7 separate regions of the Homo sapiens genome follow, and regions 1, 2, 3, 4, 5 and 6 are each linked to region 7. The links are contacts of gene promoters, found by promoter capture Hi-C in blood cells and fetal thymus (Javierre and others, 2016). All regions are on one chromosome and are shown on one strand. Each heading gives the region's core, a stretch centred on a gene start or on the middle of the fragment in contact. The rest is flanking DNA. Distances are from core to core; before and after follow the strand shown. Region 1 overlaps LARP1B (La ribonucleoprotein 1B). Region 2 overlaps LARP1B (La ribonucleoprotein 1B). Region 3 holds the start of MFSD8 (major facilitator superfamily domain containing 8). Region 4 overlaps MFSD8 (major facilitator superfamily domain containing 8). Region 5 has its middle 10 kb from the start of LARP1B. Region 6 has its middle 7.3 kb from the start of PLK4. Region 7 holds the start of JADE1 (jade family PHD finger 1).

Region 1 (3,032 bases), core at 120-2,619, 710 kb before region 7:
TGCCTTTTTTTCAAAGATAGAATTTGGCCCATATACTTCAAGGGCATCTTTAGTCACTGAGTTTTATACCCCAAAATGTGAGCTGGTTTGTTTTCTCATAACTTGTATTCCATGTTTGAAAACTTTCTCTGTGATTTGGAAATAGTGTGGGATTATTAAACTGTAGGCCCCATCATCATTGATGTTATGTATTTCTTTTGTATCATTCTTCTCTATATTTTCCCGTTTGTCTTCTTCTCTGTCTTTAAAATCCTCATACTCTCATTTACATATATGGAGGCTATAATTTTTTTTTTTTTTTTTTTGAGACGGAGTCTCGCTCTGTTGCCCAGGCTGGAGTGCAGTGGCACGATCTCAGCTCACTGCAAGCTCCGCCTCCCGGGTTCACACCATTCTCCTGCCTCAGCCTCCCACGTAGCTGGCACTACAGGCGCCCGCCACCTTGCCCGGCTAATTTTTTGTATTTTTAGTAGAGACAGGGTTTCACCGTGTTAGCCAGGATGGTCTCGATCTTCTGACCTCGTGATCCGCCCGCCTCGGCCTCCCAAAGTGCTGGGATTACAGGCGTGAGCCACCGCGCCCGGCCTATGGAGGCTATAATTTAAACATGTATTTCTCTCTCTTTAACCTTTCCTATGGTGTGGATAAACATGTATTTCTCAAAGGCTATTATTAAATGTATTGTGAATATTATCTTTATATCTTGGGATTTGTAGTTACTGATCATACTGACAGTTCATCCATTTACATTTCTCTCGGAAAGGTTAAGTGGGTTTGTGTTTTTCAAGAGAAGATAAAACATCTAATCATCTTCTATATTTTTGCTTCCATGTGCCTCATGGTGTCAAGGATATTCCTTCTTTAGCTATATTCTGTTCACCCTTAATGTCTTTCTTTTTTTTTTTTCTGTTTGAGATGGAGTCTCGCTCTGTCGCCCAGGCTGGAGTGCAGTGGTGTAATCTTGGCTCACTGAAAGCTCCGCCTCCCAGGTTCACGCCATTCTCCTGCCTCAACCTCCCGAGTAGCTGGGACTACAGGCGCCTGCCACCACACCCGGCTAATTTTTTGTATTTTTAGTAGAGACGGAGTTTCACCATGTTAGCCAGGATGGTCTCGATCTCCTGACCTTGTGATCTGCCCGCCTCAGCCTCCCAAAGTGCTGGGATTACAGGCGTGAGCCACCATGCCTGGCTAACGTCTTTTATTATTGTTTTTAGACAGTCTTGCTCTCGCCCAGGCTGGAGTATAGTGGCACCATCCCTGTTCACTGCAACCTCTGCCTCCTGGGTGCAATTGATTCTCCTGCCTCAGCTTCCCGAGTAGCTGGGATTACAGGCACCCGCCACCATGCCCAGCTAGTTTTTGTATTTTAGTAGAGATGGGGTTTCCCCATATTGGTTACGCTGGTCTTAAACTCCTGACCTCAAGCGATCCACCCACCTCAGCCTCCGAAGGTGCTGGGGTTACAGGCGTGAGCCACCTCACCGGGCCACCCTTAATGTCTTATGGTCTGTCTATCAAAGAAAGAAGCATGGAGAACTTGAATCGTTCAAAATATATATGTGCACATATGCCTGTGTGTTCACTAAGTTTTTTTTGTTTTGTTTTGTTTTTTTTTGAGATGGAGTTTTGCTCTTGTTGCCCAGGCTGGAGTGCAATGACGCGATCTTGGCTCACTGCAATGTTTGCTGCCCGGGTTCAAGGGATTCTCCTGCCTCAGCCTCCTGAGTAGCTGGGATTACAGGCATGCGCTACCACACCCGGATAATTTTGTGTTTTTAGTAGAGACAGGTTTTCTGCATGTTGGTCAGGCTGATCTTGAACTGCCGACCTCAGGGGATCCACCCATCTCAGCCTCCCCAAGTGCTGGGATTACAGGCATCAGCCACCGCGCCTGGCCATGTTCACTGAGTTTTTAACTAAGAATTGTGCTGGTTACTAGGCTTCAGAAGTATTAAACATGGCAGTACTTTGTCAACTTAGAAAACAAAATGAACTACTTTTCTGTATGTGAATTTGACAAAGGATATTTCCAGTATACCACTCTTCTCAGCGACTGGGAAAAAGGTGGAAGGCATTATGCTAACATGGGATTAGCTTTGTTATCTAATGCTTAAATGAAACAAGTAGAAGTGGCTTTGTAAAGATTTTCATCTAATTAACTCATTAAAAAAAATTATTGAACTATTTTAAGGTAAAATGAGCAGCTTAATTCTTTATATTTAGTGAAACTGATCTAAATAGAAGTTATTAATTTTTTGGAAAATAATATTTTAAGTTTAAGAGAAATTATTAATTCAGTAGAGTTTTTTGCTATCTTATATGTTTACCCTATCTGTGTTGTATTAGAGCTATACATATTGTTAACCAAATTACAATATTTTCATGTTAATGATTGGTTTTCACAGTTAATGTGGGAGCAATAGAAATATTTATTTCCTACTAAATAAATGGATGAAATTCTGATTTCTCTTTTCAGTGAATATTACTTCAGTGTAGAAAATTTGGAACGAGACTTCTTTCTTCGGGGAAAGATGGATGAACAAGGTTTCTTGCCTATTTCCCTGATTGCTGGTTTTCAGCGTGTTCAGGCTCTCACTACAAACCTTAATCTCATCTTAGAGGTAATTGCTCATTTGATGAACAATTTGTACTTTCTGCTCAAATTTCCTTTGTACCTAAAACTTCTCTGAAAAACAGAGTACTAAAAACAGACAATCTGTAGTTGCTTGAGGCTCAGACAGCATTCCATGATGTTTTTCTATTTTGTAAAACCTTCATAAATGTCTAACCTTGGAAACCCCTGAAAGTATTGCTAACGATGTTACTGTGTATTTTCTCCTTCCCCTCCCCCTCAATTAGTCAACCTATTTTAAACCTGATCCTTCAAACTTTAACCCTTTTGAACACCCTTGGTCCTTAAAACTTCTTCAGGGCTGGGCGTGGCGGCTCGCACCTGGGTGATAGAGTACAACGGCGCAATCAAACACAAATTTCTTCAGGTTACTGTAAAAAAGCATGTGTTCCTGTAT
Region 2 (3,030 bases), core at 182-2,681, 740 kb before region 7:
TGACCTCGTGATCCGCCACCTCGGCCTCCCAAAGTGCTGGGATTACAGGCGTGAGCCACCGCACTGGCCTTTACAAGTTGCTTTTTAAAGTAACTGTATAAACTGATACTCCCACTATTAGAGTTTGAGAATTGTCTTCTTTCACAATTTTTTTTTTTTTTTTTTTTGAGACAGTCTCACTCTGTCGCCAAGGCTGGAGGGCAGTGGCACTGTGTCGGCTCACTGCAACCTCCGTCTCCTGGGTTCAAGCAATTCTTCTGCCTCAGCCTCCCGAGTAGCTGGGATTACAGGCGTCTACCACCACGCCCAGTTAGTTTTTATATTTTTAGTAGAGATGGGGTTTCACCATGTTGGCCAGGCTGGTCTTGAACTCCTGACCTCAGGTGATCCACCTGCCTCAGCCTCCCAAAGTGCTGGGATTACAGGCATGAGCCACCGCGCCTGGCCATTCTTTCACATTTTAAAAAGCACTAATTTTTACCACATTTTCCCTTAAATATGATAAGATGTGAAATATTGATATCATCAGTGCATTTTCTTAATTAAAATTTTGCCAAAAGATTATGGTCATAAGAATTAAGCTGAGTGAAATAGGCTCTGCTGTGTTGTAGCTTTTGTTTAAAGTATCCTAGCCCTTAAAAATATATTATTTTCTTTAACTATTTACAGTTATTTCCTTGTAGGTCCCAGGGTTTAAGGATAACGTTTTATTATTTATTTATTTTTACTTTATTTATTTATTTGAGATGGAGTCTCGCTCTGTTCCTCAGGCTGGAGTGTGGTGGTGCGATCTCGGCTCACTGCAACCTCTACCTCCTGGGTTCAAGCGATTCTCGTGCCTCAGCCTCCAGAGTAGCTAGGATAACAGGCACCCGCTGCTATGCCTGGCTAATTTTTGTGTTTTTTAGTAGAGACGGGGTTTTGCCATGTTGGCCAGGCTGCTCTCAAACTCCTGACCTCAGGTAATCTGCCTGCGTTGGCCTCCCAAAGTGGTGGGATTATAGGCGTGAGCCACTGTGCCCGGCCTAAGAGTAACATTTTAAAGATAGTGAAATAATGCTCAAAAAAGATGTACTGGTATATAGTGTCTGTCTTACTAATGATGTTTGAAAAATGGAGATATGTTTTAAATTTTTAAATTTAAAACAATTTCCTCAACTGGCTTGCTATTTCAGTCTTAGGTGTTCTCTAATGACATGCAGCATGATTTCCTCCATGTTAAAACATGAGAAAATGAAAAATTTCCTTTCTTAGGCTTCTTTTACTTGTAATCTGTACGTATATATAATTTTTTTTTTTTTAATCAGAGTCTCACTCTGTTGCCCAGGCTGGAGTGCAGTGGTGCAGTCTCGGCTCACTGCAACTTTCACCTCCTGGATTCAAGTGATTCTCCTGCCTCAGCCTCCTAAGTAGCTGGGATTACAGGCATGCGCCACCACACCTGGTTAATTTTTGTTTTTTTAGTAGAGATGGGGTTTCGTCATTTTGGCCAGGCTGGTCTTGAACTCCTGGCCTCAAGAGATCTGCCTGCCTTGGCCTCCCAAAGCTGTTTGGATTACAGGTGTGAGCCACTGAGCCTGGCCTGTATATATAAAATTATATTTAAAACCTGGTGGACTTCTTTCCATGTCAATACATATACAGCTTTGTCTGATTTCTAAAAGTTATATAGTATTCTGTGTATTATTACGTAGAGACTGTTTAAATAGGATTATCAACAAAGTTGCACTGAACATCCTATATGGACATCTTTGTACCTTTTCTTGATTCCTAGATAATTTCCTGAAAATGGAATTCTTTTATTAAAAGTTATATACATTTTAGATGACAGATTACCCTTGAAAGATATACTACCTTGGCTGGGCGCCGTGGCTCATGCCTGTAATCCTGGCACTTTGGGAGGCCGAGGTGGGCGGATTACTTGAGGTCAGGAGTTTGAGACCAGCCTGGCTAAAATGGTGAAACCCTGTCTCTCCTAAAAATACAAAAAAATTAGCCAGGCATGGTGGCAGGCGCCTGTAATCCCAGCTGCTTGGGAGGCTGAGGCAGGAGAATGGCTTGAACCCCGGAGGGGGAGGTTGCAGTGAGCCAAGATTGCGCCACTGCACTCCAGCCTGGGCGACAGAGTGAGAAGATTCCGTCTCAAAAAAAAAAAAAAAAAAAAAAAAAAAAAGAAAGAAAGAAAGAAATACTACCTCATACTCTTACCAACAGCAAACAGCATGAGAGAAATAAAGAGACTCTGTCTCAAAAAAAAAAAAGTTGTATTTGTAATTTTCTCCTGTTATATTGTTGTCGTTTTTTTTTTTTTTTTTTTTTTTTTTTTTTTTTTTTTGGACAGAGTCTAGCTCTGTCGCCCCAGCTGGAGTGCAGTGGTGCAATCTAGGCTCACTGCAACCTCCACCTCCCAGGTTCAAGCGATTCTCCTGCCTCAGCCTTCTGAGTAGCTGGGACTATGGGCATGTGCTACCACACTGGGCTAATTTTTCTATTTTTAGTAGAGATGGGGTTTCACCATGTTGGCCAGGCTGGTCTCAAACTCCTGACTCCAGTGATCCGCCCATCTTGGCCTCCCGAAGTGCTGGGATTACAGGTGTGAGCCACCAGGCCCAGCCTATATTCTGTTAATGAGAGGATTGTTCTGTCAGTTCAGTGTAATACGCTGTGTTTTTTTTTGTTTTTTGTGGTGGAGTTTTGCTCTTGTTGCCCAGGCTGGAGTGGAATGGCAAGATCTCAGCTTACCGCATCCTCTGCCTCCCAGGTTCAAGCGATTCTCCTGCCTCAGCCTCCTGAGTATCTGGGATTACAGGCATGTGCCACTGTGCCCGGCTGATTTTGTATTTTTAGTAGAGACGGGGTTTCTCCATGTTGGTCAGGCCGGTCTCGAACTCCTGACCTCAGGTGATCCACCCACCTCGGCCTCCCAAAGTGCTGGGATTACAGGCGTGAGCCACCCCGCCCGGCAACACTGTTAATATTTCTTACTTCTTGATTTGGAGACTGAAGATCACCTTGAATCTATGTGTCAAA
Region 3 (2,766 bases), core at 221-2,720, 840 kb before region 7:
CCTTGGGTGGTCGATGGGACTAGGCACCGTGGAGTAGGGAGCGGCGCTCATCGGGGAGGCTCGGGCCGCACAGGAGCCCACGGAGTGGGTGGGAGGCTCAGGCATGGCGGGCTGCAGGTCCCGAGCCCTGCCCCGCGGGAAGGCAGCTAAGGCCCGGCGAGAAATCGAGCGCAGCGCCAGTGGGCTGGCACTGCTGGGGGACCCAGCACACCCTCCGCAGCCGCTGGCCCGGGTGCTAAGCCCCTCATTGCCCGGGGCCGGCAGGGCCGGCCTGCTGCTCCCAGTGCGGGGCCCGCCAAGCCCACGCCCACTCGGAACTCCAGCTGGCCCGCAAGCGCGGCGCGCAGCCCCGGTTCCCGCTCACGCCTCTCCCACCACACCTCCCTGCAAGCTGAGGGAGCCGGCTCCCACCTTGGCCAGCCCAGAAAGGGGCTCCCACAGTGCAGCGGTGGGCTGAAGGGCTCCTCAAGTGCCGCCAAAGTGGGAGCCCAGGCAGAGGAGGCCTGGAGAGCGAGCAAGGGCTGTGAGGACTGCCAGCACGCTGTCACCTCTCAGCTTGGGTGCTGCAACAGGCAAAGCAGCAGCCTGGGTTTCTCCAGCCCCGTCACTCGAACCCACGGGCTCATCACCGCACGGTGCGGCCAGACGCCCTTTCTCCTACGTTGGGAGCGAATCTCCTCGGCTCACACAACCCAGCCACCGGCTCCCACCGCGCTGGAACCCCTCTGGCAGCGAGGGTTTGTCCCAGTGCGGGTGACGCCCGGAAAGGAACCAGTCCCAACAGCGCAGGAGACTGAGGGGTCCCTCCACCAGGATCCGCTCACCTGCTTCCAGGTGTGTCGCCTAAGAGCGGCTCCTGTTCACTTTCGTTCCGCAGGCCGGCCATAGTTACACTCCCTACAAGGCGTCTTGCGCCCAACTCTCGCGACACCTGCTTTCTCCCATCCCGGGTGGCGTGAAGCTGGCAAAACAAGCCTGTAAGTGCGCGTGCGCACCTGACGGTCAGACGTAGGCGGAACGCCCCGAGGTCATAGGCGGGGTCACGCGGAAGGCCGGGCAGCGCAGGGCGAAAGGAGGCTGTGTCCTCAGCCTCCTCCCTCGGCACGCGCCTCCCATCCTGACGGGGACTGAGAGCCCAGGAGAGCTCGGGGCGTGTCCAAACTGCCGCGCCGCCCTGCTCCGGGTTTGTCTTCCTCCCTCCGTTTCTCCTTCCGCTGTATCTAGCATTTCGGTTCCTGGAAAGGTTACCGGAGCTGCGATTGGGGCTGGGACCAAAGTTGAGTCCTGGAAAGGGAGCCTGGAGAGCGGCGGTGCTGGGAGGCCCGGCCAGCTCGATCGCAGGCTTCCACCTGGCGGCCAGTAAGTAGCCGGTCCGGTTAAGTAGTAGGTGCGCTAAGAGCTCCCCGCGCCTCTTAGCGCGCCGTGTACGCGCCTGGAGGCAGGGACCGGGGACGCGGAGCTGGGCGGGAGACTCGCGGGTCAGGGACGCGGGGTGAGGCTGGGGGTGAGAGACAAGGCTGGAGTCCGTGGCGCGCTTCGGAGGGCTGAGATAATGGGGGCGAGCGCGCGGGCAGTCCCTTCCCCCCGTGAAAGGTAGAGGTGGCTTCCAGCTCTCTTCTCTAGCTCGGCTAAATGCAAAGGCGCCTTACCTGGAGGGCTTGTCAGAGCCAGGACTGAAGGTGGGATCTGCTGCTTGTAACCTGCAGGTCCCCGGATGCGCACCCCAACGGCGCCTGCGCCTACGGGGGCCTCAGCCTTGCAAAATGTCACTCAGCAGAGCCTGCTGCTGAAACGTGGGAGTTGAAAAAGGTACAGCACCTGCCTAGCAATGACCAGCTCCTTTCGTCACAAGGAAGATGACATTTTTAGAAAACATGTCATGGGTTTTCACTAGATCTCCATGTTTATTTCTTGGTGGTTATGTATTAACATCTTATCTCTACTATTAGGCTTGTAGGCTAGCTGGCGTCAGTAGTCATTCTGTGTCTCATAAATTACCGTTTTATTAGCGCCAGATACATTGTCATGTAATTTCATTTGATCACAAGTATCCTATGAGATAGGCGAAGCAGACACATTGCTAGTTTACTGAAAATTAAGATCCAGACAAGTTAACCCAGAGTCACTCTGTGTGGAAGTGGCAAAGTTGGAAACCAAACTTAATTTTTTTAAATTAATATTTATGAGCATTTACCCTATGCTAGGTCCTATACTAGTTACACAGTCATGTATGGTATATGCCATCACTTCTGATCTTTGTGTCATTTGTGACCTTGTGTGTATCAGCCAGGCGCAGTTCACTGGTGAACACCTAAACTTGAAACGTGCGGTCTGGGTGCGATGGTTCATGCCTGTAATCCCAGCACCTTGGGAGGCCAAGGCGGGCGGATCACGAGGTCAGGAGATCGAGACCATCCTGGCTAACACGGTGAAACCCCGTCTCTACTAAAAATACAAAAAAAAAAAAAAAAAAAAAAAAAAAAAAAAAAAAGCCGGGCGTGGTGGCGGGCGCCTATAGTCCCAGCTACTCGGGAGGCTGAGGCAGGAGAATCCCTTGAACCCGGGAGGCGGAGGCTGCAGTGAGCCGAGATCACGCCACTGCACTCCAGCCTGGGCAACAGAGTGAGATTCTGTCTCAAAAAAAAAAAAAAAACCAAAAACCTTGAAACGTGCTATTCAGAAATATCTTCTAAATCAAGACCTGATATTTTGTACTTGGATTCAGTCTTGCAGATTCATTTGTAACAGCTCACAAAAACAAGTCAG
Region 4 (3,205 bases), core at 52-2,551, 860 kb before region 7:
CAGAAGCTAAGAGGTGGTGCCATGGTTTGAATGTGTCCCCCAAATTTCATTTTTTGGAAATTAATATTTAAATTAATATTATTAAAATATTGAAAGGTAGGACCTTTAAGAAGTGACTGTGTTACATTAGGTAGCTAGTTGGGTATGAACAGGGCAGGAGAGGTCTCCCCTGCCCCTCACATGGGGAGTGTGGAGAGACTGTTAGGTGATGGTCAGGCGGTTGTTAACGCTCTCTAAAGTAATTATTGGTCACAGCTAGTGCTAGGAAAAGGCAGCCTCCTAATAAATAGAAAACACCTGGTAATTAGCAGCTTCCTGATACGATCTCAGGGGTGGGGTGAGTGGGGAGAAGTAATGCAAGACCCCAAAATTATGCCAGTGTATGAAATCCCAAGTCAAAAGGTCAAACCGCAGGCTTGTCTTTCAAGTTGCCCACTTGGCCCTCTTCCAAGTGTACTTTCCTTCTTTTCCTTCCTTTCATTCTTGCTCTAAAGCTTTTTAATAAATTTTAACTCCTGCTCTACAACTTGCCTCAGTTTCTCCTTCTGCATTATGTCCTTTACTTGAATTATTTCTTTCAGGAGGCAAGAATTGAGGTTGCTGCAGACCTGTACAGACACAGATCTGCCAACTAACAATTGGATCATGAAGGCTGTGCCCTCATGAATGAATCCATTTATGTATTAATGGGTTATCATGGAGTGGAACTGGTGGCTTTATAAGAGAAGGAAGAGAGACCTGAGCTAGCATGCTCAGCCCCTTCATCATGTGATGCCCTACACTGTCTTGGGACTCTTCGGAGAGTCCCCACCAGCAAGAAGGCCCTCACCAGATGTGGTCTCTCAAACTAGGACTTCTCAGCCTCTGTAACGGTAAGAAATAAATTCCTTTTTTAAAATAAATTATCTGGTTTAGGGTATTCTGTTATAAGCAACAGAAAACAGACTAATACAGGTGGTTTCAGGAAGTAAGGAGAGGACAACAATGTCAAATCCTATCCAGGTGTCACCTAAAATAAGGACTGAAAAGTATTTCGTGATCAACAATTAAGTAATTGGAAACCTTACAAGAGCAGTTTCAGGACAGCAGAAAAGTTAATCAGATAGCAGTAGGTTAAGGAGTAGGTTAGGAAATACAGAGGAACTCTTTAAGAACCTTTACTAAAACATTGTTATAGATGAATTATGTAACCAACTTATATACTGATTTTTAGTTAAGTTTCTTCCTGGAGATTTAAGATAGAACTGACAGGACCTGATGATCAACTGATGTTAAGCTACCTAACAAACTTACATATTCATGTCACCCCCTCTTCCCCTTCTAGTAATAACAGCATCAAAAAATACATATGTTCTAGTCTTTACAATGTTACCTGATAGCCCAAATTAATTTTATGGGAAAAGCGTTAAATTATTCCACAAAAATATCATTTACACACTTTAGGAATTCAGACTATTACTAGTTTCCTTTTTATTAGGGAAGAGGTAATGATGGAATATGAATGTGGCTTCTGAGTAGGTGACCATACATCTACCTTTGCCTGGGACTATCTGGGTATGATCCTATTTTTCCTTACGTAGCAGTCTCTTCACTACAAAAGTGTTCTGGCTTGCACAATAAAGCATATGGTCACATTACTTATAAGCCTCTTTTAAGGAACTATTATCTCATTATTCTTGTAAAGATTAAACCATAGAATACCAAAGAGACTCTTTAGAAAATGCTTAACTACGTAAGAGTTACTACTACTGTAGCTATAAGGGAAAAATAGATTGAAATGTACAAACCTTTTGGAGATATGGCCATATGGACATCATCACTACAGAAAACCCTGTGAAGAAGCAAACTAGGTTATTTATACTTATAATAATTTAATCATTATTACAGATACAATTTTCTGAACCGTGGCATGGATTTTAAAATATTCTGAACCTAAAATCTATGCATACAAATGCCTAATTTATGAGGCAATGAGATTTTAATTATCAGAAGAAAAATAAAGACTAAAAGAACATACAATTACAGTCCCTCATCATAATAACAAATACAAAAAAGCAGAGGATCTACTTCTCCATACTCATGTGCTTTTACTGTAAATGGAAATAACCAAAAGCTTTGTTAAGTTTTTATAGCAGAAATGAATGGAGGAAAGGCTATTTTGTTAGACAGGAAGTGCTAGGCTTCTATCCTGTGTTGTTTGGAGGAGATAATTGACTGAAGGGAAGAGCAGGAATAAGGAAAATGATCATCTACAGGGGGGCTATAGAAAACCAGAATACTTCAAGATGGCCATACCTTAAAAGAAAATTCACTATTTCTGCTAGCCTTTACTACATGAAAACTATAATGATTAACTCCAACACTATCTGTCAATTTTAAATGTTAGGCAAATGCAGCCAGCAGTGACTTATGCCTGTAATCCCAGCACTTTGGGAGGCTGAGGCAGGCAGATTACCTAAGGTCAGGAGTTTGAGACCGGCCTGGCCAACATGGTGAAACCCTGTCTCTACTAAAAATATAAAAATTAGCCGGGCATGGTGGCACATGCCTGTAATCCCAGCTACTTAGGAAGCTGAGGTAGAAGAATTGCTTGAACCCAGGAGGCGGAGTAGGTTGTAGTGAGCCAACATCGCACCACTGCACTCCAGCATGGGTGACAGAGCTTGACTCCATCTCAAAAAAAAATTAAAAATGAATAAATAAATGTTGGGCAAATCAAGAAATTCTATAAAGCCTGTTCTTCAAAATGGCTTTACTGAGGCTGGGCACAGTGTCTCACGCCTGTAATCCCAGAACTCTGGAAGGCCGAGGTGGGTGAATCACTTGAGGCCAGGAGTTTGAGACCAGCCTGGCCAGCATGGAGAAACCCCTCTCTGCAAAAAAAAAATACAAAAATTAGCTGGGCATGGTAGCGCATGCCTGTAATCCCAGCCATTCAGGAGGCTGAGGCAGGAGAATTGCTTGAACACGGAGGCGGAGGTTGTAGTGAGCCAAGATTGCACCACTGCACTCCAGTCTAGGTGAGAGTGAGACTCTGTCTCAAAAAAAAAAAGGAAAAAAAAGAAAAAATAAATTTAAAAATAGCTGTTGAGATATATAATTCCCATATCATACAATTATGCATTTAAAGTATACAATTCAATGGGTTTTAATATAATCACAATGGGTTTTAATATAATCACAGATATGTGCAACCATCATTACA
Region 5 (3,141 bases), core at 605-3,104, 760 kb before region 7:
GTTCCCTAGGAGTGTAGGGGCGTGATCCCAGCTCACTGCAACCTCTGCCTCCTGGGTTCGTGTGATTCTCCTGTTTCAGCCTCCGGAGTAGCTGGGATTACAAGCACCCACCACCACACCCAGCTAATTTTTGCATTTTTTAGTAGAGACGGGGTTTCACCATGTTGGCCAGGTTGGTCTCGAACTCCTGACCTCAGGTGATCCGCCCGCCTCGGCCTCCCAAAGTGCTAGGATTACAGGTGTGAGCCACCGTGCTCAGCCCCATTTGATCTTATTTCTAGGGGATCATGACACTGAAACCACAGAGAAGGGAATGCAGTCCTCTCATACTACATTGTTCTGCAGTAAGAGATAGCTATAAACTCAAAATAACATAAAGCTGTTTGTGGATTCTTAAATTTTCAGACCAATCTATGAACAAAGCACAAAGGTATATTATGGTTACTCAATAGAGTATAAGTGATTACTCCTGACAATGTAAGGAAAAGGAAGAAATGTCCAGGATGTGGAGACCTCTCATACGCTGCCAGTGGGTGTGTGAATTGGTACAAGAGTTTGGAAAATGACTTGGCAATATTTGGAACAAATGAAGATATGCAGATCCTATGACTCAGAAATTCTATTCCTAAAATGATACCCTCAATAAATTGGCACATGCACACCAGAAAAAAAAATGTTCATAAAAGCCATGTTTACAGTAGTCCCAAATTGGAAGCCGAAAAATTCATCAACAATAGCATAAAAAATTGTGATATAGTCATTCAATGAAATACACATACTATAACAGAATAAATGACCTACAGCTACTCTCAACTTGTATGAATCTTAAAAACATAATATTGAATGAAAGAAGCAAGACGGAAAGTAGCATATGATTCCATCTACATATAGTTTTAAAAATAGGCAAAACTATGGGATGCATGTTTAGTGACAAACCATAAAGAAAAGCAAGAAATTTGAGGAGGCCAAGGCAGGAGTATAGCTTGAGCCCAGGAGTCCAAGACAAGCCTGGGCAACGGACACCTCATCGCTACAAAAATTGAAACAAATAAAAAATTTGCCACGGCCGGGCACAGTGGCTCACGCCTGTAATCCCAGCACTTTGGGAGGCTGAGGCAGGTGGATCACGAGGTCAAGAGATCGAGACCACGCTGGCCAACATGGTGAAACCCCGTCTCTACTAAAAAAAAAATACAAAAATTAGCTGGGCATGGTGGCATGTGCCTGTAATCCCAGCTACTTAGGAGGCTGAGGCAGGAGAATTGCTTGAACCTGGGAGGTGGAGGTTGCAGTGAGCCGAGATTGCATCATTGCATTCCAGCCTGGTAACAAAGTGAGATTTCGTCTCAAAAAAAAAAAATTTGCCAGGCTTGGCAGCTCATGCCTCTGGTCCCAGCTACTTGAGTGGCTGAGGTGGGAGGATCTCTTGAACCTGGGAGGTCAAGGCTGCAGTGAGCCGTGATCGCAGCACTACACTATAGCCTGAACAAAAGAGTGAGATCTTGTCTCGAAAAAAAAAAAAAAAATGGTGTGTGTTGGTGGGGGACACATGGGAGTTCTAATAAGAGGGTTGAATGTAAAAATAAAGAAAAGCAGACAACCGTTGGAAGGTAGAACAAAGGGTAGGATGATATATTCTCATTTTATAGAGTGGCAATATAAGAAGCTCTTTCTAAAATTGGTGAAATACTAAGTAAATGTTCAAATTACTTAAATTATTTAAAATTTCCAAGTAAACAACAAAAATATCAGAAATTGGGAGGAGAATCGAGCAGGGGCTTATGTAAGTGTGTTAAATCCTCATGTTTTATAGTGGCAAGGCAAAAGTTGAAAGATGGTAACTTTGGGGATTAGTACCTTTGTGAAGTAGAACTGTTTTTTTATTTTCATTATAAACAATATTGTACCATTTGGTGTTACCATATGCATAAGCTAATTGCATTTTTTTTTTTTTGAGACGGAGTTTCGCTCTTGTTGCCCAGGTTGGAGTGCAATGGCGCCATCTGCGGCTCACTGCAACCTCTGCCTCCTGGGTTCAAGCGATTCTTCTGCCTCAGCCTCCTGAGCAGCTGGGATTACAGGCCACCACACCCAGCTAATTTTGTATTTTTAGTAGAGACGGGGTTTCTCCACGTTGGTCAGGGTGGTCTCGAACTCCCAACCTCAGGTGATCCGCCCACCTCGGCCTCCCAAAGTGCTGGGATTACAGGTGTGAGCCACCACGCCTGGCGGCTGATTGCATTTTAAAAACCACAAGCTATTTTGTAGTATTGTTGAACAACTTTAAGGGGAAAAAAAGGCAATATAGTGTATTGTTATGGTTAAGAGTATGAACTATGGAGAACTATGAAGCCAGATTGCTTGGGCTCAAATCCTTGCTCTGGCACTTTCTTTTTTTTTTTTTTTTTGAGATGGGAGTCTTTTTTTTTTTTTTTGAGATGGGAGTCTAGTTAGCTCTGTCGCCCAGGCTGGAGTGCAGTGGCATGATCTTGGCTCACTGCAGCCTCCACCTCCCAGGTTCAAGCAATTCTCCCGCCTCAGCCTCCCAAGTAGCTGTGACTACAGGCATGTACCACCACACCCGGCTAATTTTTGTATTTTTAGCAAAGATGGGGTTTCACCATGTTGGCCAGGCTGCTCTTGAACTCCTGGCCTCAGGTGATCCACTGGCCTTGGCCTCCCAAAGTGCTGGGATTACAGGCGTGAGCCACCACGCCCGGCCCTGGCACTTTCTAATTGTATGATTCTAGGCAAGCCATTTATCCATTTTGCCTCAGTTTCCTCATTTAAAAATGGGGGCAATAATAATCTGTATTTTATATAGTTGTTCTTAGGATTAAATGAATTAACACATGTAAAACACTTAGTGTCTAGCATATGTGTGTTAACTATTACCTACCACTAGGTAGTTAATTGTGAAAAATAAAGCTGAAAGGAAAAGATGAAGACTGAAAATTACCCAGTAGACTTATTAACATGTAAGTCATTTGATATTTTAGTGACACGGTTGAGTGATAGAGCCAGAAACTGGACTGAAGAGGGAGAAGTGAAGAAACAGATGCATACTCAATTTTCCATGAATCATTGATCATACTCCTTACATTTTTTTCTTAACTCCTTTGACTTTCCCAAAGATAACTA
Region 6 (2,885 bases), core at 97-2,596, 940 kb before region 7:
AAGCATCCTATAAGGAAGTATCTTTAAAATTGCACAGATGTCAGCCGGGTGCAGTGGCTCACGCCTGTAATCCCAGCACTCTGGGAGGCCAAGGTGGGTGGATCACCTGAGATAAGGAGTTCAAGACCGCCTGGCCAACATGGTGAAACCCTGTCTCTACTAAAAAAACAAAAATTAGCCGGGCATGGTGGTTGGCACCTGTAATCCCAGCTACTCAGGAGGCTGAGGCAGGAGAATCACTTGAATGTGGGAGGCAGAGGTTGCGGTGAGCTCAGATCGTGCCACTGCACTCCAGCCTGGGCAACAGACAAGACTTTTTCTAAATAATAATAATAATAATAAATAAAATTGTATAGATGTCAGCTGGTGCAGCGGCTCACGCCTGTAATCCCAGCACTTTGGGAGGATGAGATAGGCAGGTCACCTGAGGTCAGGAGTTCGAGACCAGCCTGGCCAACATGGCAAAACCCCGTCTCTACTAAAAACACAAAAATTGGCCAGTGGTGGTGGTATGCGCCTGTAATCCCAACTGCTTGGGAGGCTGAGGCAGGAGAAGCCCTTGAACCCAGGAGGCAGAGGTGGCAGTGAGCCGTGATCAGGCCATTGCACTCCAGCCTGGGCGACAGAGCGAGACTCTGTCTCAAAATAAATAAACAAATAAATAATCTTATAATTATTAAATGAATTGGAGAGGACAGTGATGTTAGCAAGATGGCAGAGTATTGTTATGGATAATAATAGTTATCCATAAATGATAATAACTTTGGGAGGGATCAAGGGCCCATTTAAGAACTTGTGGTAACACAGTGGAGGAGAAAAATGGAGAATAACCAATGTGGAACAGTCAAAGGACAGCAGTATACCTGAGACATCTAGAGACAGGAACAAAAGACAAGGGTAGGAGCTATTAGTATCAGCCGCACAGCATGGGCTACTGTGGTCCCCACTCACCTGCTCTATAGAGGACACCAGCAACTGAGGTAACCAACAGCCATCCCCACTGCAGACCCCTCCACTACCACCAGAGAGGGAAACATGGCTATGCCCCCTCCAAAGGCGCCACTGTTGGGCTTTTCAGGACTGGAGCCATCATCCCTCACAATCCCGTGCTAATCCCTGACATCTGAACTATGGTCATTTCTCTGTCATGCTTCCTGTTACGCCTGAAGAACTGTGGGTCAATTAAACTTCTTTTCTGCATAAATTACCCAGTCTCAGGTAGTTCTTTATAGCAGTGTGAAAACAGACTAATACACCATACTACACAAAGCAATCCACAGATTCAGGGAAGTCCCTATCAAAATTGTAATGGCATTTTTCACAGAAATAGAAAAAGCAATCCTAAAATTTACCTGGAATTACAAAAGACCTTGAGTAGCCAAAGCAATCTTGAGCAAAAAGAAGAAAGCTGGAGGCATTATACTACCTGATTTCAAAATAATTTATAAAGCTATAGTAATTAAAACAACATGGTACTGACATAAAAACAGACATATAGACAAATGGAACAGAATAGAGAGCCCCAAAATAAATCCATACATTTAGGCAATTGATCTTCAACAAAAGTGCCAAGAACACACAATATGGAAAGGACAGCCTCTTCAATAAAGGGTGTTGTCAAAACTAGACCTCCACATGCAGCAGAATGAGAGTGAACCCTTATGTCAGCTGATATACAAAAATCAACACAGAATGGATCAAAGATTTAAACACAAGACCTGAAACTGTAAGACTATTAGAAGAAAATATAAAGGATAAGCTCCATGATATTTGTCTAGGCGATGATTTTTTTAAAATATGACCCCAAAAGCACAGGCAACAAAAGCAAAAATTGGCAACTGAGATTGTGTCAAACCAAAATGCTTCTGCACAGGCAAGGAAACAATCAACTGAGTGAAGAGACTACCCATGACTTGGGAGAAAATATTTGCAAACCATACATCTGATAAAGGGTTAATATCAAAATAAAGAACTCAACTTGATAGCAAGAAAGAAGTAATTTTATTAAAAAATGGGCCAATGACCTGAAAAATCACTTCTCAAAATAAGATACACAGCCAAGCGCACCTCTAGTCCCAGCTACTTCGGAGGCTGAGGCAGGAGGTTCACTTGAGCCTAGGAGTTTGAAATGAAACTGGGCAACATAGTAAGACCCTGTCTCATATTTTTTTAAAAGGGAAGAAGATATACAACTGGCCAAATAAAATATTTTAATTTTCACATTATTTACTGATGTGTATTTTAAAGAAATAAAGAAACAAAATAATAGTTCTTTATATTTATCTACATAGTTCCCATTTCTTTCTTTCTTTTTTTTTCTTTTTTGAGACAGGGTTTCACTCTGTCACCCAGGCTGGAGTGTGGTGGTGCGATCTCAGCTCACTGCAACCTCCACCTCCTGGGTTCAAGCGATTCTCGTGTCTCAGCCTCCCAAGTAACTGGGATTACAGGCACACTCCACCACACCCAGCTAATTTTTTATTTCTGGTAGAGACAGGATTTCACCATGGTGGCCAGGCTGGTCTCGAACTCCTGGCCCAAGTGATCCGCCTGCCTCGGCCTCCCAAAGTGATTGGATTACAGACATGAGCCACCATGCCCAGCCCATAATTCCCATTTCTGATGTTCTTGATTACTTTCTGACAATATGAGTTTCTATTTCTTATCAAATCCACACAGTGTGAAAAAATTCCTTTGGCATTTCTTGTAGTGCAGGTCAGTGGATGATGAATTATCTTGTTTTCATTTATCTAAATTACTGTTTTTGTTAGATAATAGAATTCTGAATTGACAGGGGCTTTCTTCATCAGCACTTAAAGATGTCAATTCACTGTCTTTTTCCTTCCATTATTTCTTGTGAGAAGTCAACATCATTTATGTTACTT
Region 7 (3,117 bases), core at 408-2,907:
TACAAAGCCTGTGTACTTTAACTTCTACAGAGAGTATGTGCGAGGTGAACCAGTAAAAATAACAATAACAAGTGCAATACTAAGAATAGTAATAATGATAGTTAACACAGTGCTTTACATGTGTGATCGCTTTGAACAGGATTAAGTGAACACATGAATAGGACTGGCAGGGAGTCTTTCTACTCTTCATTAGCGAAACAGGAGAGGACATATACAGTACTTAGGATTTCCACTGGCTTACTTTGTTTTCTGAAAAATAACTGAAAGGCTCAATTAGTTTTGTTTTGTCGCATTTATCAGATTATAACGTTCTGGATGTGGGTCTGGATGTGGGTAGTTGGGCTGGTGTGGGATTACATGAAATCAAACCTGATATATTCAGAAAGATTCTTCCGGTGGACACATATGCCTTTTGGGTTCGATATTCAATTTTGTAATTAGTGATCACTGTTCCTATTTATTTATTTATTTATTTGAGACGGAGTTTCGCTCTTATTGCCCAGGCTGGACCACAATGGCGCATTATCGGCTCATCACAACCTCCACCTCCCGGGTTCAAGCGATTCTCCTGCCTCAGCCTCCCCAGTAGCTGGGGTTACAGGCATGTACCACCATGCCCGGCTAATTTTGTATTTTTTAGTAGAGACAGGGTTTATCCATGTTGGTCAGGCTGGTCTTGAACTCCCGACCTCAGGTGATCCGCCCACCTAGGCCTCCCAAAGTGCTGGGATTACAGGCGTGAGCCACCGCGCCCGGCCTGAATGGGAGTTTTTAATCCGTACTTTTTTCTTATTGAAGTTGAATGTCATATACCCCTCTATTTCCCTAGATGAATCCATGAAAGAAGTATGTTGCCCTCTATATGAAAAAGCAAGCTTGTCTTCTGCAGAAAATCAGTAACCACTCCTTTTTACACATAAATACCCCCAAATGAATCTCCGATGACTGATCTGATACTAGTCTGCAATTCTAGTTTTAGCATTAGGCTCACTCCTCATATTTGGGAGAAGATGTCCAATTCTGTAGTAATGTGTAACATAAAGTGGTGTCAATTTATAAATAATATCTTCTAATGAATTAATGCTCATTTGCAATGATCACTTCCATACAAATTTAGGTAAAGATGTTATTCAGAATTGGATTCTCTCTATTTAAAAATGTCATCCTAATGTGCAACTCCCTAAAACTGTTACTACAAACAACTATTTTGCCACTCAGCCTAAAAATAAAACCTTTCACCCAAATGACACATCTTAATAGCCATATTTTAATCTACGTAATTTTAAACTATTCTGAAAGAATCCATTTCTAGATGTCAGACAAGAGTTGAAACTGGGACAGCAGTTTGAAGGGGCTAATTTAAAAACCCACTTGCTTGGAGACACCTCAAGAATTTCTAGGCTCACAAGGTGGGTGAAGTAAGGAAAGAGACTAAGAGCTGAACAGTGCCGTTCTTTGCGAGCCCCCACTGGCGCAGGCTGAGCCGGCTGCGGCTAGGGCTGCGAAGAGTTAACGAGGGACCGAGCCCCAGCGCCGCGGGCTCCCCGCATGCTCCCTCCGCCCTCCCGTCCCCACCCTCTCGTTTTGGCAAGGGATTAAAGTGCTCCCCCCTGTGGCAGCAGTGACCCAGAAATGAGTTTGATTCACATAGTCCTTCCTCCATAACAAGCCAAACGCCAGACCGAGAGTGCCTCCGTGCGCGAGTGCCCGGTGTGTGCGCGCCGGCGAGAGCAGGGGCCCGCCCGGCTCCCCGCCCGCCGCGGCCCGAACTCATGCAGCTCCGAGCGAGCGAGCGGCGCCCAGCCCAGCGCCTCGGCCGAACCCCTCCGCAGCAGGTACGCGCGCGGGCCGCGGGGGGCGCGCGGGGTGGGCGCGCCGCGCGTGTGTCCGCGCGTGTCCGCGTGTGGGTCCGTGTGCGCGTCCCGGTCCCGCGGCGGCGACGGCGGCGGCGGCGGCGGCGGCTGCAGGACGAGCCGAGAGGCTCAGCCATATTTGATGGTTTTGTTGCTTTGCTCGGGAGTTCTCGGGAGTAATTTAATGCCGAAGGTCGCTGCCTAGTGGAAATAATATAATACGTCATTAATATGGCGCCAAAAGATTGGGTTCTCGATCTGTAGCGAGGAGGGAGGGAGGCAGCCGCTGAGCGCAGCGTTACTATCCCACCAGTAACTTGGGCATTGCCGGGGCGGGGGCCGGAGGAGGAGGAGAGGATGATTTTTGGATCCTGAGAATTGATCTATGTTGGATCAGTAAGTTTTATTATGATTTTTTTTTTCAAATTTGGGGGGCTGAAGACTTAGAGCTATTTCTTCTTTTGGATTTGCGAAGAACATGCGGTTTTCAGGTGAATCATCAATTAAACGCGTTTAGGAGCAGAAGCCCAGTTTAAGTTGGCTTTAGTTTATAGGTTTTTTTTTTTTTTTTTTTTTTTTAGAAAGCCAAAGTGCATTAGGCTGCATGAAAGTGGAAAGCATAGTAGCAACTTGGTAGACAGATGGCAATGGCAGAACGCAGGTTCGCGTACATATATGAATCCAGAGTGTGTGAGACCGTGTGTGTGGTGGGACTGTATTTGTCCAAACATAGGTGTGCGTAGGTACATCTGTGTGTGGTGGCCGCAGCCCTGGCTCTTGTCACCGCGTCACCACATGTCCAAAATATTCATTGCATCAATTCAAGGGCAGTGAGAGGGGGGTGGGGGTGGGGGTGGAGGGACAGTTTGGCAATTAGATTCTTCCGAACTGGGCTTCCAGTGATCAGATCTTTTACTTACAGCGCGACTGCTTGTAAAGTGTAAAACCCCTTAATCGATGAAATGGGGTAGGAGTTGGCGTTGGTAGAGCAAAGTACCGATTAATCGTGAACTTAAAGGGGATTGCAAATTGCAACCTTTGGCACCATCTGCAAATTGTGGGGGTGGGGTCTCTTGGTCTCCTTGCTTCCTTAAATGAACGTGTAGTGTGTACCCCGGGACTGCAAGTTGCAGAGCCCTTCAGTGCACGTGTCTTGTGCCTGTGAGTCTGTGTTTGCGAGTTGGGGGCTGTTGTTCGGTAGCCAGCAGGCTTTCCGGGTTGCTCGGCATTGGCTTGCAAATGCGGGAGAGGGATGGAATGTGGA

What was found. Contacts are between HindIII fragments. The CHiCAGO score rates a contact against its expected background, and 5 or more counts as called.
Region 1: a fragment that was not itself captured here is called in contact with the fragment with the promoter of JADE1 in region 7 in 1 of 17 cell types (activated CD4 T cells); the score reaches 7.0 in activated CD4 T cells.
Region 2: a contact is called between a fragment that was not itself captured here and the fragment with the promoter of JADE1 in region 7, in 2 of 17 cell types (total CD4 T cells and activated CD4 T cells). The highest score is 5.5, in total CD4 T cells.
Region 3: a fragment that was not itself captured here is called in contact with the fragment with the promoter of JADE1 in region 7 in 9 of 17 cell types (activated CD4 T cells, total CD8 T cells, non-activated CD4 T cells and 6 more); the score reaches 13.2 in activated CD4 T cells.
Region 4: a contact is called between a fragment that was not itself captured here and the fragment with the promoter of JADE1 in region 7, in 1 of 17 cell types (activated CD4 T cells). The highest score is 6.3, in activated CD4 T cells.
Region 5: a contact is called between a fragment that was not itself captured here and the fragment with the promoter of JADE1 in region 7, in 1 of 17 cell types (activated CD4 T cells). The highest score is 5.8, in activated CD4 T cells.
Region 6: a fragment that was not itself captured here is called in contact with the fragment with the promoter of JADE1 in region 7 in 1 of 17 cell types (non-activated CD4 T cells); the score reaches 7.0 in non-activated CD4 T cells.

The regions. Positions count from the first base shown.
Region 1 is chr4:128,095,707-128,098,738 of GRCh38, forward strand. LARP1B (La ribonucleoprotein 1B) reads left to right here. Exons shown (of 20, transcript NM_018078.4): 8 at 2,480-2,624. Among named protein-coding and RNA genes, the nearest start is that of LARP1B, 36 kb to the left of the region's middle. The HindIII fragment of the contact is 9,900 bases long and covers 1-3,032 here.
Region 2 is chr4:128,071,275-128,074,304 of GRCh38, forward strand. The region is part of intron 1 of LARP1B (La ribonucleoprotein 1B); the gene reads left to right. Among named protein-coding and RNA genes, the nearest start is that of LARP1B, 11 kb to the left of the region's middle. The HindIII fragment of the contact is 5,579 bases long and covers 1-3,030 here.
Region 3 is chr4:127,964,248-127,967,013 of GRCh38, forward strand. It overlaps MFSD8 (major facilitator superfamily domain containing 8), which reads right to left and starts at 926. Exons shown (of 12, transcript NM_001371596.2): 1 at 825-926. The coding sequence starts at 886. ABHD18 (abhydrolase domain containing 18) reads left to right here and starts at 1,159. Exons shown (of 13, transcript NM_001358451.3): 1 at 1,159-1,359. RefSeq lists silencers at 103-232, 243-292, 1,413-1,642 and enhancers at 733-1,152, 743-1,358, 2,037-2,538, 2,539-2,766. The HindIII fragment of the contact is 3,933 bases long and covers 1-2,766 here.
Region 4 is chr4:127,948,017-127,951,221 of GRCh38, forward strand. It overlaps MFSD8 (major facilitator superfamily domain containing 8), which reads right to left. Exons shown (of 12, transcript NM_001371596.2): 3 at 1,788-1,831. Among named protein-coding and RNA genes, the nearest start is that of MFSD8, 16 kb to the right of the region's middle. The HindIII fragment of the contact is 1,619 bases long and covers 493-2,111 here.
Region 5 is chr4:128,049,420-128,052,560 of GRCh38, forward strand. No RefSeq gene overlaps it. Among named protein-coding and RNA genes, the nearest start is that of LARP1B, 10 kb to the right of the region's middle. The HindIII fragment of the contact is 4,093 bases long and covers 1-3,141 here.
Region 6 is chr4:127,872,110-127,874,994 of GRCh38, forward strand. No RefSeq gene overlaps it. Among named protein-coding and RNA genes, the nearest start is that of PLK4, 7.3 kb to the right of the region's middle. The HindIII fragment of the contact is 9,011 bases long and covers 1-2,885 here.
Region 7 is chr4:128,808,043-128,811,159 of GRCh38, forward strand. It overlaps JADE1 (jade family PHD finger 1), which reads left to right and starts at 1,658. Exons shown (of 11, transcript NM_199320.4): 1 at 1,658-1,835. RefSeq lists silencers at 1,481-1,960, 2,471-2,590 and an enhancer at 2,061-2,170. The HindIII fragment of the contact is 6,052 bases long and covers 874-3,117 here.